2 separate regions of the Homo sapiens genome follow, and region 2 is linked to region 1. The links are contacts of gene promoters, found by promoter capture Hi-C in human tissues and cell types (Jung and others, 2019). All regions are on one chromosome and are shown on one strand. Each heading gives the region's core, a stretch centred on a gene start or on the middle of the fragment in contact. The rest is flanking DNA. Distances are from core to core; before and after follow the strand shown.

Region 1 (3,296 bases), core at 487-2,986:
CATATATATTACTGAACTTCTGCCTGGGTCATTTAAAAAGCCTTTCAAGGCAGCCCGCCCAGCCCCCAGAGCGGCCTGGCTGAATTTCTCTGTAAAGCTCCCTCCTAGATTTTATCCCTTGGTGTTGGCAAGAAGGTCTCCTTACTCCACAGGCCTTGCTATTGTGCAACTGATTTAAGGATGGTCCAGGCCTAACTGCATCGGATTGGTTGTAGTACAGCTCCTGAGCCCTGCCCACAGGAACAAGGCTAGCAATCCTCTAGACCGCAGGAGCTGCGAAGTCCCCACCCTCTAGCAAGAGGCCACCCCAGCACCAAAAGAAGACAAAGTTCTGAAGTTAAAAAGGAGGCCCCGTTCCCTTCAATAAGGCTCCTCAAAATCGCTTTCCAGGCTCCTCCCTCTGGAGGACAGCCCAGTTAGGGCACAGACAACCTTTGAGCTCTCTTCCCGTGACCAAGCTTCACCTCTACCCCAGTATTACTTATTTGTAAACAGTTCCTGGTCATGCTTTGAAAAGCAATGCCAGGGAACCACCCTCTCTCTGGATTGCCTCTCTCTAGCCCCTTCCACAGGATCAAGCAACCACCCCACCCAACTGGGGTGTCCTTGACAAAGGTCCTTCAATCCATTTCCAAAGGCGTCGCTGCCGAAAGACACCCTACCTTAAGGCTGTCAGCACCCTACCACCCCCACCTACTTTCCCTTGGCTATTACTTGAGCTTTATTTTATCACGCTCTCCTCCCGGCCTGGGGACTCCCCTCACCCGTGGGGCCTCGTCCAGCAAAGTAAACAATGCTGTCAAAGCGGGATAACGCTGGGCGAGGCTTCCAGACTCCGCATTCCAGCCTCCTCCCGGTGTTCTAAAAGCAGCAAAAACAAGCCATCGCAGGATGCCAGGGCCGAATTCCTCTCCCAAAGTTCTTTTTTAAAAAGCCCCGGAGCCAGCTCCAAAATCAAGCATTAATTTGCACAATCTACGACAGGCAATGCAGACTGTAATGCAAGGCCAAGTGGAGCCAAATCCGCCCGGGAAGGAGGCAGAGAGGAGAGAGAGAACTGGGTCGAATGCGTAAGCCTGCCACGAAGCGGAAACAAGAGCTCTTTTTCGCGACAGGACAGCCACATTCCCGAGTGGGGCGCGCGCCGACTCGAGCTGCGGGCAAGAGCGAACACGAAGTAAAGGGTCCCGAACGCTCGGGCGGGCCCAAGGGCAGCGTCCCCGGGGCTTCGGTGGAGCTGGGGGCGGGGGCGAAGCGGCCGGGCACCGAGGCGCCGAGGAGTTAGAGGACCGCGGCGGGACACCGGGCGCGGCGGACGGCTGGCCGGCGCTCACCTCCCGGTGTGGTGGAGAAGAGCGTCCCCCCGGGCGTGGTGCAATAGTCATGAGGTAGCTGCGCGGCGTCGCTGATGGCCACGGTGCGGGTGGGGATGGCGCGGCTCTGGCTGGGCTGGTGGCCGCTGCCGGCTGACGAGGACATGGCTGTGGGCGCGGGCTCTCGGCTTTGTCCGGCGGGCAGGCGGCGGCGGCGGGGCCGGGGCTGCTTCGGCTCCTCAGGCGGACGGAAAAGCGCGCTCTGCGCGCTCCTCGCTCGCTTCCTCCCGTTCCCTCGTCCCGCTCCGCTCCCGCCGCCGCCCTCTCAGCCGCCGCCGCCGCCGCCGCTCGATCCTCCGGCCTCAGCCAGCAGCCTCAGGAGCAACAGCAGCGGCAGCAGCGGCGACGACGACGACCGGAAGCGGGCGAAGGCGGGAGCCAGAGGGAGTTGGGGAAGCTGGTCGGCCGGAGGTGACGTCGCCGCGGGGCGGGGCGAGGCAGTGAGGGGCGTGGCTGAAGTTGTTGAAGGGGGCGGGGACGAGGGGCAGGGCTGAGGAAGAGAGTGGCTTAACCCCAGCGAGCGGGAGAAGAGCCAGAGGGAGCGCGAGCTAAGTGTTTGTGAGCCTGGTGAAGGCGGACAAGGAAAACTTTCTTCTTATTGTTTGTCATTGTCGGTTAACACCACTTTACTTGAGCAGACTTGAGTTTCTCATGCATTCCTATGCATTAAAAATGTAATTTTACTTTTAATTGTTCATTATTAATTCAGGCACTACATGCACGATGTACTGTATTTTAAAAATCAAACAGAGCAGAAAGGTTTATGGTGCCACTTTCTCCCAGTTTCCGAACTCCCCTCAACCGCTGTACCAGTTAATTGTGTATCCTTCCAAAGACCATCACTATATACACACATAAAGCAAGATCTAAACATTAGGAAAAGGAAGAAACCAAGAGCCACTCATGGCAACAAGAATGAGTATTATTGTATTAGAGTTAAAATGAGGCACAGGAGAGGGCTTAGACCATGAGGTACCTGAAAAATCTAGATCTGGAACTCTATTCTTTCCTCGAGGGGTTCTCAAACTTTGGGTCTCAGTACCTCTACATTCTTGAAAATTATTGAGGATTTCCAAGAGCTTTTGTTTGTGTGGATTATATGTATTGATAATTATTGTATTAGAAATTAAAACTGAGCCGCTGCTGATCACTAGTGGGATTGTACCTGTGAATAGCCACTGCATTCCGGCCTGGGCAACAGAGTGAGGCCCTGTCTCTAAAAAACAACAACAACAACAACAACAAAAAACAAATTAAAACTGAGAATGTTTTAAATGTTTATTAATTCATAAAATAATAACCTATTACATGTTGACATTATATTTTTTAATTATCTAAAACAAATAGTGAGAACAGTGGCATTATTTTATATTTTTGCAAACGCTTTAATATCTGGCTTAATAGAAAACAGCTGTATTCTCATATCTGTTTCTGTGTTCAAGCTGTTGTAATGTGTTGATTCAACTATATGAAGAAAACCCAGCCTCACACAGGTATGTAGTTAGAAAAGAAGGTTGTCTCAGATCCCCGAGGGGCTCTCCAGATCACACTTTGAGAACCGCTGCACTAGGGCAGCACTACTTCTGCCCACAACATGCCCAAGGTGGGACTGGGAAGACACTCATGGGTAAGGCCAACATAGCTACCATCATTCCCATTTTGCAAATGAGAGAAATAAGGGTAAGAGAGGTTGAGGGGAAAACAGCTATTGCTTCACTGCTCAGAGGGTCAAACAGGTGCTTGGCAAGAACATAGACAAAAGAACTTACAACAGCCCAGGGCAGGCCAGGGCATTACATGGTACTGATTTTGTGGTGAGTGCCCCAAGAATCCAGAAAAAAAAGTCCCCTGCCTGTCCTGCCATCTGGAAGCTGCCAGAGTTGCAGAGGGCTGAGTTTAACCTTGAAAGACTCTGAGACTTTG
Region 2 (3,296 bases), core at 419-2,918, 810 kb before region 1:
TCGCAGCAGGAGGTAGGAGGTGGGGAGGGCTGCGTCATCTCGTCCACTTTCTGCTCCAGTTTTCCTGCTCCATTCTCAGCCTCAACTCAGAGAGGACTCCGTGCAGGAGGCCCCGTCCCCACCTGGCTCCGGAGCCGAGCCGCCCGGCAGCCGTGGCCAGCCCACTTGCTTGGGTTCGGGTACCAGAGAGAGGCTGGCTCCATTCAGTCCACAGCCTCCCCGAGAAGACGCAGCCCAGCCAGCGACGCCGGGTCCAGCTACAGGACGAGCGAGAAACGTATTCATCCACGGCGAGAGAGGAGGGTTAGGGACTTTATTTCGGAGCCCACCAGTTCGCTGAAGTCATCTTGGTGGGTCCAGAGCGGGCGCTGTACCAAGGAGAGCGCACCTAGTCTGTTCCCCGGACAGCGAGAATGTCAGTGACCAATTTAAAAGGAAACTCCGCAGGATCGCTAAGAACCCCTACCCGCATCCAACACACACACACACACACACACACACACACACACTCTCCAACACTCAGAAAATTAATAATAATAATAATAATAATAATAATAATAATTCTTCCAGACCTGCGGGCCCAGCGATCTCGGGGAAAGCTATGTGTGCAAGACTTAGCCCTCCCCGCTTCAGGAGCCCTGCAAGCCGGCCTGCCGAGGCTACCGAAGCGCTTCCTGTGTTCAGCAGGTCTTTTCGCTCTCTCCCTCTAGTCTGCAGATTGCTGTCCCTATAGCGCGTAAGAGCCTAGGCGAGCCGGGACCAGACTAGTAAGTTACCGGCGTACGGCAGCGAGCGCACACCTTGCTTATGTAGCCAATGTTCTTTTTCGGGGCGGATGCCAGGCGCGCGGAGAGCCGGGCGTCCCCAGGAGGCGGATCCTCCCGGAGACTCAGACCCTGACTCCTACACCCCTTCCAGGGAGAAGAAGGGATCCCTTTCAGGAGCGAGCAGGGACCTTTCAGCTTACTGTGAAGCCCCTTCCCTGCTCCCCGCTCCCGCGATGTGGATGCGCCATTGCCCACTTTGGGAGGCAGTAAAATCTACATTCTAACTTGGGCGCCCTTGCCGCTTTTCCTGCGCGCATCGATGCGACGAAAGACCACCTCAACTTCAGGACAGAGTGAGGCGCAAGGGTCCCCTAGCCCCGCGCCCCCAGACCCGATCGCTTCCTACCTGCTTGGCTCAGCCTCGGGTCCCAGCAGAGCAGCAGTGCCAGCAGCAGCGCGCCCCGAGCTCCGCTCCGGGCCCCCATGCTCCCGCGGCCTGGTTCGGGCGCCTCTCCCCCAGGGCTGTCTCCCTGGCCCCAGTCTCGCCGCCGCCGTCTCCGCCGCCGCCGCCTCCTCCTCGCCGTCCTCCCCGGCGCCCGGCAGCGCCAGCCCGTGCCTTCCGTGGGGGCAGCGGAAGCCACGCTGCGCGGAGGGCCGCCTGGCACTCGGAGCGCGGTGGGTGCCTGGCGCCGGCTCTCGAACGAGGCTCCGGCGCGCCCCTCTGGCTCCGGGTCTCTGAGCGCTCGCCTGGCTCCGGCGCTGTGCCTCCGAAGTTGCGCGACCGCTCAGTGGCGCTCGCAGCGGCGGCGCCGCGCAGTCCCAGCCCCAGTGCGCGCCTCTCGGAGCCCCGCGGCTGCGTGCGGCTCCGGCGCCCTAGCCGGCCCCAGCCGCCTGCCACAATGCCGAGCGCCGCCGCTCGCTCGCCGGAGTGAGTTCGCCAACCGAGGGGACCGCGCGCGGCCGGGGCGGGGCCTGGGCGACCGAGGGCGGAGCCGACAGGGGGACCTTGAGGGGGGATCCGACGGCCATCTGGGCGCGGCCGCGGCAGAGCTGGGGGACCCGGGGGGAGGGTCCTCGCGAGACGCTGGGCGCAGCGTTTTGAAAAACCCGGCCGCTGGAGAATGGCTGGACGTGGAGGCGGCCCAATTTTCGCTCCCCCAAATTAAGGAAATCTGGCTTTGCGCCTTCATTTGGCTTGGCCATGTCAGCTTTCTCCTCTGATTAAACATAGGACTCTCACTTTTGGCTCCCCTGTCTGTAGTATGCGCTCTGCCTTCCACATGTGGGGGTCTTTCCAAAAAAAAGGCTCCCAAAATGAGAACACCCAAGTCCTGGTTACGCGGGGGCTTACAGCGATATGAAGCTGGGTATAGATTAGGATCATCCTGGCTGGCTCTGCTTGTCTGTATGATCTCCGGCAGAACTGTTAACCAGACCCCTGGAAACCCCTCCAGCACTCTGATCCTGCGTTGTTGTAAACTAGCCTCCTACCTGACAGTGGGACAGCCATTTTTGGCTCAGTGTAAACTTGGACTCTGCCCCTTATTTACTGTGTGACCTTGAACAAGTTACTTAACAATTCTATTGCTCCCTTCATCATCATCTGTAAAATGGAGGAAAAGGATAACTATTTCATAAGGGGGTATAGAATTAAATTTTAAAACTTGTGTGGAAATTGCAGTGCAAGTGTCAATAATCTCTTTCCAAGATTCTCCCCTCCCAGCCAGTCTGATTCCAGGGGGAAAGTCCTGACCACCCAAAGGTGGTCCAAGGAGCACGTGGGGACAGGTGAGGTTTGAAGGATGGGCAGTGTCTTGGGATTGAAACCCAGAGAGATCAGAACGAGCGGATCAGCTAACATAGGCAAAGACCTTCCCTGTGCCAGGCACAGGGCTAAGCACTCTGTATGCATCATGTCAGTTAATTCTCACAACCCTCTGAAGTAAGCACCATTTACATCCCATTTTACAGATGAAGGACCTGAGGCACAGAGGTGTAAAGCCACCTGCCGGAGATCACACTGCTTGGAGTGACTGAGTGACTGAGCAAAGGGGATGGGGGAGATGGGATTGGAAAGAAACCCTCTAAACGGGGGAGCCTCACTTGAACACCTTCCCTGGGGCTGGATTGGGCTGTGCGAAGGGGACTGTCCTAGCTGTTTCCCCAGAGGTGAGGTGAAGGCAGGACTAGTACCCTCTCCACACACACTCCCCTCACAAGCCGGGGTCTTGGAGTATCTAGGGGAGGTCGTGCATGCCATCAGCACATCTCCCTAACCCTCTCTGACTGGGCACCCAGCATCAGGAGGGTGGCAACAGGTGGACTGGGACTCCCTGGGGGAAGAACTTCCATCAATTGAGAAAGGCTGCTGTGGGCAAAGGTAGGTTGCTTAGCTTGGCCTCTGACAGCCCTAGCAAGGGCAGTGGATGAGACAGTCAACAGCTCAGCACACCCAAACCAACTCCACCTTGCAAATACACATGCACACACACAACTACCCACCCATACACACCTGCAAAGGTACACACA

What was found. The method cuts DNA at HindIII sites, captures the fragments that hold promoters and counts their contacts. A contact is called where the count stands out against the background at its distance.
Region 2: the fragment with the promoter of UNC5B here is called in contact with the fragment with the promoter of EIF4EBP2 in region 1 in 2 of the 25 tissues and cell types used here (heart right ventricle and liver).

What each region holds. Positions count from the first base shown.
Region 1 is chr10:70,402,585-70,405,880 of GRCh38, reverse strand. EIF4EBP2 (eukaryotic translation initiation factor 4E binding protein 2) reads right to left here and starts at 1,736. Exons shown (of 3, transcript NM_004096.5): 1 at 1,335-1,736. The coding sequence starts at 1,479. RefSeq lists silencers at 1,435-1,644, 1,675-1,864. The HindIII fragment of the contact is 23,735 bases long and covers 1-3,296 here.
Region 2 is chr10:71,210,942-71,214,237 of GRCh38, reverse strand. It overlaps UNC5B (unc-5 netrin receptor B), which reads right to left and starts at 1,668. Exons shown (of 17, transcript NM_170744.5): 1 at 1,174-1,668. The coding sequence starts at 1,252. RefSeq lists a silencer at 1,508-1,767 and an enhancer at 1,612-1,906. The HindIII fragment of the contact is 13,648 bases long and covers 1-3,296 here.